2 separate regions of the Homo sapiens genome follow, and region 2 is linked to region 1. Evidence: promoter capture Hi-C in 16 types of primary human blood cells and fetal thymus (Javierre and others, 2016). All regions are on one chromosome and are shown on one strand. The core of a region is centred on a gene start or on the middle of the fragment in contact, and the rest is flanking DNA. Distances in the headings are between cores, read along the strand shown. Region 1 holds the start of ZFAND2A (zinc finger AN1-type containing 2A). Region 2 holds the start of COX19 (cytochrome c oxidase assembly factor COX19).

Region 1 (4,504 bases), core at 966-3,465:
CCAGTCACCACCGCCGTGCAGCTGGTGAGGTCCTGCTCTTTTCACAGCCCTTGAGTTCTCTGGTGAAAACCGAGAGTAAAGACTGTACAATAAGCCGGGCACAGTGGCTCATGTTCTGTAATCCCAGCGCTTTGGGAAGCTGAGGCAGAGGGATCACCTGAGGTCAGGAGTTCAAGACCAGCCTGGGCTACATAGCAAAACCCCGTATCTACAAAAAATACAAAAATTAGCCAGGCATGATGGCGCATGCCTGTAGCTCCCGCTACTCAGGAGCCTGAGGAAGAAGGATGGCTTGAGCCTGGGAGGTGGAGGCTGCAGTGAGCTGTGATCATCCCAGTGCCCTTCAGCCTGAGCCACAGAGGAAGACACTGTCTAAAGAAAAACAACAAGCTGGGCGCAGTGGCTCACGCCTGTAATGCCAGTACTTTGGGAGGCCGAGGCAGGCAGATCACCTGAGGTTGGGAGTTTGAGACCAGCCTGACCAATATGGAGAAACCCCCGTCTCTACTAAAAATACAAAATTAGCCGGGCCTGGTGGTGCATGCCTGTAATCCCAGCTACTTGGGAGACTGAGGCAGGAGAATCGCTTGAACCCAGGAGGTGGTGGTTCCGGTGAGCCGAGATCACACCACTGCACTCCAGCCTGGGCAACAAGAGTGAAACTCCATCTCAAAACAACAAACAAAAAACAAAACAAGAAAAAGCATGCCTGGTTGTGTCTGTCCTTACCTGATTGGGCATGGTCTCTATTGATTAGGCGACCATCTGGTCTGGTTGGCACGACGCTTTTTGGGTTTGAGGAAGGGTCTGCTCTGCTGCCCAGGCTCTAGTGCAGGGCGCATTCACAGCTGACTTATGCCTCCACCTCCCAAGAGGCTGGGACTGCAGGTGCATGCCACCATGCTGCGTTCATTTCTTATTTTTGTAGAGACAGGGTTTCGTCATGTTCACCAGGCTGGTCTTGAACTCCTGTCAGGCCTCTGAGCCCAAGCTAAGCCATCATATCCCCAGTGACCTGCATGTATACATCCAGATGGCCTGAAGCAACTGAAGATCCACAAAAGAAGTGAAAACAGCCTTAACTGATGACATTCCACCCTTGTAATTTGTTTCTGCCCCATCCTAACTGATCAATGTACTTTGTAATCTCCTCTACCCTTAAGAAGGTTCTTTGTAATTCTCCCCACCCTTGAGAATGTACCTTATGAGATCCACCACCTGCCTGCAAAACATTGCTCCTAACTCCACCGTCTATCCCAAAACCTGTAAGAACTAATGATAATCCCATCGCCCTTTGCTGACTCTCTTTTCCGACTCAGCCGGGCTGCACCCGGGTGAAATAAACAGCCTTGTTGCTCACACAAAGCCTGTTTGGTGGTCTCTTCACACAGACATGTGAGACACTAACCTCAGGCCATCCTCCCACCTCGGCCTCCCAAAGTGCCGGGATTACAGGCCTGAGCCACCGTGCACCGTCCGGCTAATATTTTATTTCTGCAGAGATGGGGTCTCGCTATGTTGCCCAGGCTGGTCTCCATGTCCTGGGCCCACGCCCTCCTCCTGCCCAGCTGGGCGGGGTCTTACCCAGGCGGAGCCCCTTACGTGCAGGGCGTTCTGTGCAGTGACCGCGGCCCTGGGCAGAGCCAACCCCACGCGGCCACATAACCGTCCAGGGGGCGGGGGGCAGCGCGGTGAAATGGAAAAGGATTTAACTGGGGGATCTAGGTGCTGGGGACACTGACATTTTCGGTATTATTCTTGAAGCTTTTCCCTAAGTTTGAAATTACCTAAAAACACGTTGTTTTGAGATGGAGGCCTCCTGGGGCCCGCAGGATGCGCGGCCGCGGGCGGGTGCCCGGGGCGGGAGGCGCCGGATGGGTCGCTAGGCCTCCTCCCTCAGGCCGGCCTCGCGCTCCTACCCCGCAGGACCCCGGCCGCAGCCCTGAGTCAGCTTCCCCGCTCCTCGCCCGCCCGGCTGCGCCTGCGCGGAGCCGCCTCACTGTGACCCAGCAAGCGCGCCGCCTGCGAGAAGCGACCGGACACTTCGAGAAGGGAAGTGGAGAAGCGAGGAGTGGGCGGGCCTGCGGGGCGCGGCGGGGCGGGATTGGCCGGATGGCTGGTGTCGTCTTCGGTGTGCGCCGGCGCCACTGGGCCGCGGCCTGGCGGGATTGGCCGGTCTGCGGGTGACGTTGTCGGGGCGCGCCCGGAAACCCCAAGGCCCAGACGGCTCTCAGATCCGGGGGCTGCGGATAAATCCCCGTAGGCCGCGGGCAGCGAGATGTTGCGTTCCGGTGTGGGTGTGGGTGTGCCTCCGACGGCGTCTCGGTGCCAGTGTCGAGGTTCTTTCTGCTTAGCTACCCGGAGCCGACTACGGAGGAGGACACCTGAGTTTACGTCTCTTCCATCTGCTGCTCACCTCAGCTGCCTGGGTCCCCGACGAGAGCCAGGTACGGGGCCGGGATTGCGCAGACAGGGTCTGCCGGGGGTCGGGCCTGCCTTGAGGTCAGGTTGCTCGGGGGTTCGGCCTGTCTGCTAGGAGTGCGGCTGCTGAAAGTCCGGCTGCTTGCTGGAGGTCAGGCTGCTGGGGGTCCGGCCTGTCTGCTGGGGACCGGGCCTGCCGGGGTCTGGCTGCTGGGGGTCCGGCCTGTCTGCTGGGGACCGGGCCTGCCGGGGTCTGGCTGTTGGGGGTCCGGCTGTCTGCTGGGGACCGGGCCTGCCGGGGTCTGGCTGCTGGGGGTCCGGCCTGTCTGCTGGGGACCGGGCCTGCCGGGGTCTGGCTGCTGGGGGTCCGGCCTGTCTGCTGGGGACCGGGCCTGCCGGGGTCTGGCTGTTGGGGGTCCGGCCTGTCTGCTGGGGACCGGGCCTGCCGGGGTCTGGCTGTTGGGGGTCCGGCTGTCTGCTGGGGACCGGGCCTGCCGGGGTCTGGCTGCTGGGGGTCCGGCCTGTCTGCTGGGAGTCCGGCTGTCTGCTGGGGGCCGGGCCTGCCATCGGGGCCGTAGTACCGGGTCGCACGGGGTCGTTAACCCGCCAGCCGAGTGACAGCCACGTAGATGTGTGTTTTCTTGCTGCGGGCCCGGCCCGCCAGGGTAGGGTGTTGGTTTCCTAGGACGGGTGCTGTGCGTCCAGAACAAAATCATTTGGGGATTCACATCAAACTCTTGTGAATTCCTTGAACAAAACAATTTCGGAACGCCTGCTGTGTGTCGGGCACCGGGAGCTAATAGTAAAGCAGCGGATCTGTAGTTGGAAGCTGTGGGCGAAGGAGGGCTGGGAAAGGACTAATGGGCACCTTAAGTAGCGGGCGTGTAACATAGAGGGAACTGGGGAGGGTGGGAATGGCTTTAAACTGAGGCGGGAGGGGATAACTAGACGTTTGCCATGGGCGAGAGTGTTCCAGTCTTAGGCGACAGTCTAGGAGGCCTCCAGGAGTGGGGAGAGAGCTGATGGGAAGGTCAGGAAAAGGCCCCGGGAGGGGCTGGTGAGTACTAGATGACGGGACCTCGTGAGCCCCAGGAAAAGGCCCCGGGAGGGCTGGTGGGTACTAGATCATGGAGGGGACCTCGTGAGCCCCTTGATTCTCTCTCGAGTGCGGTAGTTTCACCAGCTGTCTGCCTGTTTTCCATAGTGACTTAACAGCTTGCGCTTCTCCCTGATCAACTCCAGGTTGATGTCATCGAGGAATAAGTTCACAGTAAGATTCAATGCCTAAGGGAGTTGAAGAGAGAGGCGAGGGACAGAGTTAAATCTTCTCTGGATAATGGAGTCAACTGATGTGATTTAGCACCTAGTAACAGAGTTTTGTTTATGTGAACAAGTATATTCCATGGATAAAATTGTGACTTAAAATTCACCAAAGTCGTAATCATCACTGGCAGCTGTGTGAATTAGCTCTCGCCCCCTCAGTGTGAGTTTAAATAGAAACCCGAGTTCAAGGAGTGCTTCATAGACTAGGAATTAAAAGGCCTGTGAAGGAGTCCGTGTCTCTTAATGGGGTTGACTACGAATGGCGGACACCTGGTATTTGTACTAAAACTCCATGGAATGCTCCCCACACAGTGCGTTTGTTGACTTTCATTAGCTGTAATTACATTGTAAATCCTGGTGACTGAAGGGCAGTCCAGCTTTCCTCCTAACTATTCTGATTCTCTTGTAGGTGACACTTAACTCCGCCATCTGCGTTTTGAGCACTGTTCTCATAATGGAGTTTCCTGATTTGGGGAAGCATTGTTCAGAAAAGACTTGCAAGCAGCTAGGTGAGTACTTTTAAGAGACTTAATAGAAAATGGTATTTTGTTGGGGGAAAGCTGGCTGTTCTGTTAATTAGCTGATAATTGTGTCTTGGCCTTCCTGGCTCCTCAGTATTGGGAACTGTGCTGGTGCAGGTTCTGTTTGACACTTAGCATCCACCAGAGGCTGGGTGCAGGAGTGCAGGCTGGCTAGCAGGGCCAGGTGGATCCAGGGGGCTGCTGGAATACTTGCGATGCCATAGGGGGTCTCTAGAAGA
Region 2 (4,504 bases), core at 117-2,616, 180 kb after region 1:
GTGAAATGGGTGGGATGGATGAGTGAGTGGAGGCTGGAGCTTGGGCCGCCCATGGTGCTCTAAACGGGCCAGTGTTCGACTTCCTCATGGCCAGGGCATGTGGGTACAGGTTCAGGGCTGGGAGAGACTCCGCGGGTGGACGCTGGGGTCTTCACTGAGCCCTTTCCCACGACTGCTGTTGCCATGACAACATCGACACGCAAAGGCCGGGCCTTACCGCTTACAGTACACTTTCATTCTGCCCTAGGTTGAGCTGTAACTACCCTCCACCCCCATTCGTATGGTGAAGCCACTAGGACCTTAGGATGTGACCTTTGCTTTGGAAATAGGTGCCAGGTGCGGCGGCTCACGCCTGTCATCCCAGCCCTTTGGGAGGCTGAAGTGGGCGGATCACTTAAGGTCAGGAGTTCGAGACCAGCCTGGGCAACATGGTGAAACCCCGTCTCTACGAAAAGTACAAAAAATTAGCCGGGTGTGGTGGCGCATGCCTGTAATCCCAGCTACTCTGGAGGCTGAGGCAGGAGAATCTCTTGAACTCGGGAAGTGGAGGTTGCGGTGAGCCGAGATCGTACCACTGCACGCCCGTCTAGGTTACAAAGTGAGACTCTGTGTTGAAAAAAAATATATTAGCTTAGCTGGGTGTGTTGGTGGCGCCTGTAATCCCAGCTACTCGGGAGGCTGAGGCAGGAGAATTGCTTTAACCTGGGAGGTGGAGGTTGCAATGAGCCAGGATCGAGCCACTGTACTCCAGCCTGGGCAACAAGAGAGAGACTCCGTTTTAAAAAACAAAACAAAGAAATAGGGTTGCTGCTGATATAATTAGTTAAGATGAAGTTATTGGGACGGCCCCTAACCCAACATGACTGCTATCCTTATAAAAAGAGGAAATTTAGGTTGGGCATGGTGGCTCATGCCTATAATCCCGGCATTTAGGGAGGCTGAGGCAGGAGGATTGCCTGAGCCCAGGAGTTAAGGACCAGCCTGGGCAACATAGGGAGACTCCATCTCTACGAAAAATAGAAAAATTAGCCTGGTGTGGTGGTGTGTGCCTGTGGTCGCAGCTACTCAGGAGGCTGGGGTGAGAGGATCGCTGAGCCCAGGAGGTCGAGGCTGCAGTGAGTCGTGATCATGCCACTGCACTCTAGTCTGGGCAACAGAGCAATACCCTGTCTCAAATAAATAAATAAAAATAGTAAATTTGGACATGCGCAGGACACCATGGGAACGTAGGGGCCGAGACCAGGTGGTGCTTCTGCAAGCCAAGGAACCTCACAGGCTGGCGGCCCCCAGAAGCTGGGAGGCTGGGACTGTCCCCAGGGCCCCCACTCTGCCCACTGCTTGGACTCCAGACCCCAGGACTGAGAGCACATTCCTGTTGTTGAAGCTGCTCGGTGGTGTCACCTGGCTCCAGCAGCCGCAGGCAGCGAGTCCACAGGCTCTCCTGTCCCTCCTGTGCCGCCTTCCTCCCCGGATGGGCCCCGTGATGAGGTCTCTGTGCGATGGGGAAACCGAGGCCCCAGCAGACACCTGGGATGCAGAGACGCCGGCACCGCTATGTGTCCTCGGGCAATTCGCTGAACCTTTCTGGGCCTCGGTTTCTCACCAATTCCAAAAGCTGATTCTGCTACCGACTGCTGTGAGGGTCCCAGGGGACGGGAAAGCCCGGGCAGCGCCCACCGGGGCTCAGGAGCTTGCTGACTCCGAGGGGGTGGGGCCGGGCCTGGGCAAGGGGTGGGGCCGGGCCTGGGCAAGGGGCGGGGACGGGGCCTGCTCGACGTGCTCGGCGCTCCCGGGGTGCCTGCTCGGCGCTCCGCCGGCCGCCCTGCGTACGCTCGCAAGGCGCTCGCAGACTCCGGAGTCGCCAACATGTCGACCGCCATGAATTTCGGGACCAAGAGCTTCCAGCCGCGGCCCCCGGACAAGGGCAGCTTCCCGCTGGATCACTTAGGTGAGCGGCGGAAGGTCGGCGGGCAGGGGTCTGCGATGGGGGGTCTGGGTCGCGGCCCAGCGCGGAGCCCTATGGGGTGCCGGCATCTAGCGCGGTGCAGGCGGGGAAACTGAGGCACGGCGGCCCGCCCCTCCGCCCCACCCAGCCCTGGGTCACTGCTGCGGCATGGACCCTGCAGGTGGGAGCTGGCAGGACCGTGGCCCCCGTGACGAGGGCAGCGACACCGACTCCTTGCGTCAGGCTTCCGGGTCTCCGGCTCCGCCCTGACTCACCCGGCGGGCTGTCTGTGCCCCGGGTTTGCAGAGCGGGGCATTCGGCGGCCACGAAGCCCGCAGCTGCAGCCGAGGCTTAGACGGTGCCTAGCGATGTCTGCTGCAAAGCTCAAAAGTGCTGCTGATCTCCCAGTGCTTCTGGCCGTATTCCGGTGGGGTTGCCTCCGTGGACATGAAGGCTTCGAAAAAGGATCTGTGGGCCGGGCGCGGTGGCTCATGCCTGTGATCCCAGCCCTTTGGGAGGCCGAGGTGGGCGGATCATTTAAGATCAGGAGTTCGAGACCAGCCTGCCCAACATGGGGAAACCCCGTCTCTACTAAAAATACAAAAATTAGTTGGGTGTGATGTGGCTCGCCTGTAGTCCCAGCTACTCGGGAGGCTGAGGCAGGAGAATCGCTTGAACCGGGAGACGGAGGTTGCAGTGAGCCGAGATCGGGCCACTGCACTGCAGCTTGGGCGACAGAGTGAGACAACGTCTCAAAAAAAAAAAGAAAGAAAAGAAAAGAAAAACGATCTGTGAATTACTGTTTCTTTCCCAACATTTTATTGTGACATTTTCAAATAGCAAAAATGAAAGAATTTTTACCCTGAACTCTCCTGTGACCATCACCTACATTGCACCTTAACCTCGTACTGGGCTGACTTTACCTCGTTGTGGGTTTTTTCCATTGTTGTTTTCAGCATGTTTATGAAGGAAACAAGTTTGGGTTTGATTGTTTTTGTTTTGAGACACGGTCTCACTCTGTTGCTTAGGCTGGAGTGCAGTGGTGCAATCATAGCTCACTGAAGCCTCGGCCTCCTTCCTTTCTGGACTCAGGGGAGTCTCCCGTCTCATCCTCTAGAGTAGCTGGGACTATAGGTGTGCAGCGCCACACCCAGCTAATTTTTTTTTTTTTTTTTTTTTTAGAGATGGGGTTTCCCCATGTTGCCCAGGCTGGATTATTTATTTATTTATTTTTGAAATGGACTCTCACTGTGTCGCCCAGGCTGGAGTGCAGTGGTGTGATCTCGACTCACTGCAACCTCCTCCTCCCGGGTTCAAGCGATTCTCCTGTCTCAGCCTCTAGAGTAGCTGGGACTATAGGTGTGCAACACCACACCCAGCTAATTATTATTGTTTTTTTATTTTTTATTTTAAAGATGGAGTTTCCCCATGTTGACCAGGCTGGATCATTTATTTATTTATTTTTGAAATGGAGTCTCACTCTGTCACCCAGGCTGGAGTGCAGTGGTGTGATCTCGACTCGCTGCAACCTCCGCTTCCTGGGTTCAAGCAATTCTCCTGCCTCAGCCTCCCGAGTAGCTGGGACTACAGACACCCGCCACCATGCCCGGCTAATTTTTGTATTTTTAATAGAGATGGGGTTTCACCAAGTTGGCCGAGCTGGTCTTGAACTCCTGACCTCAGGTGATCCGCCCACCTCTGCCTCCCAAAGTGCTAGGATTACAGGCGTGAGCCACCGTGCCCAGCCTGGATTATTTTTAGGAGACAAGGTCTTGATCTGTTGCCCAGGCTGGAGTGCAGTGGTGTGATCAAGCTCACTGCAGCCTCGAAATCCTTTGCTCAAGCGATCTTCCTGCCTCAGCCTCCTGAGTAGCTGGAACCACAGACGTGCGCCACACCTAGCTAACTTTTAAGGTTTTTTTTGGTAGAGATGGGGGTCTCACTGTGTTGCCCAGGCTGGTCTCAAACTCCTGGGGTCAGGTGATCCTCTCAGAGTGCTGGGATTACAGGTGTGAACCACTGCGCCCGGCCTGAGGAAACAAGTTTTGAAAGGAAAAGCAGCGCAGCTCTTAAGGCTGTTGTGTGGTTGCATCACTTTTCACTCTGAAAAGAACATGCTGTTTTCTTTCTCGTTCTAGGTGAATGTAAAAGCTTTAAAGAGAAATTCATGAAGTGTCTTCATAACAATAATTTTGAAAATGCTTTGTGCAGAAAGGAATCAAAAGAATATTTAGAATGCAGGATGGAGAGGTGAGTACAGCTAAGCGTTATGATTTCCACCTCCCACTACTCCAATTAAAACTTTTTTTTTCCTGAAAGGCCATTACAGTGTGTCTTTTTCAGGCCTGGGATTCAGCTTGTGTTTTTCAGGACTGTGGAATTGTTTGCCCTTGAAATGGAGGCTTATCAGATGAAATTGTACCAAAAGCTGTTTCACAATCTTGGGAACCTCTTCTTGAGCGATAGCGTTATACATGATTGCATTCCTGAGAGCATTTTCTTTCCACATTTGGTTGCTACCGACCTGTCATTAAGGTTTCCAAATCGTGCATCATAATG

What was found. The method cuts DNA at HindIII sites, captures the fragments that hold promoters and counts their contacts. A CHiCAGO score of 5 or more calls a contact.
Region 2: a fragment that was not itself captured here is called in contact with the fragment with the promoter of ZFAND2A in region 1 in 2 of 17 cell types (total B cells and naive B cells); the score reaches 7.8 in total B cells.

What each region holds. Positions count from the first base shown.
Region 1 is chr7:1,157,907-1,162,410 of GRCh38, reverse strand. It overlaps ZFAND2A (zinc finger AN1-type containing 2A), which reads left to right and starts at 2,215. Exons shown (of 5, transcript NM_182491.4): 1 at 2,215-2,447; 2 at 4,154-4,253. The coding sequence starts at 4,199. ZFAND2A-DT (ZFAND2A divergent transcript) reads right to left here and starts at 2,037. Exons shown (of 3, transcript NR_110069.1): 1 at 1,788-2,037; 2 at 1-59. RefSeq lists enhancers at 1,059-1,571, 1,572-2,085, 2,086-2,598, 2,599-3,113 and silencers at 1,677-1,726, 1,737-2,276. The HindIII fragment of the contact is 3,271 bases long and covers 1,767-4,504 here.
Region 2 is chr7:972,872-977,375 of GRCh38, reverse strand. It overlaps COX19 (cytochrome c oxidase assembly factor COX19), which reads left to right and starts at 1,827. Exons shown (of 3, transcript NM_001031617.3): 1 at 1,827-1,948; 2 at 4,084-4,195. The coding sequence starts at 1,867. RefSeq lists enhancers at 841-1,721, 2,353-2,422, 1,722-2,604 and silencers at 1,653-1,932, 1,953-2,112. The HindIII fragment of the contact is 5,464 bases long and covers 1-4,098 here.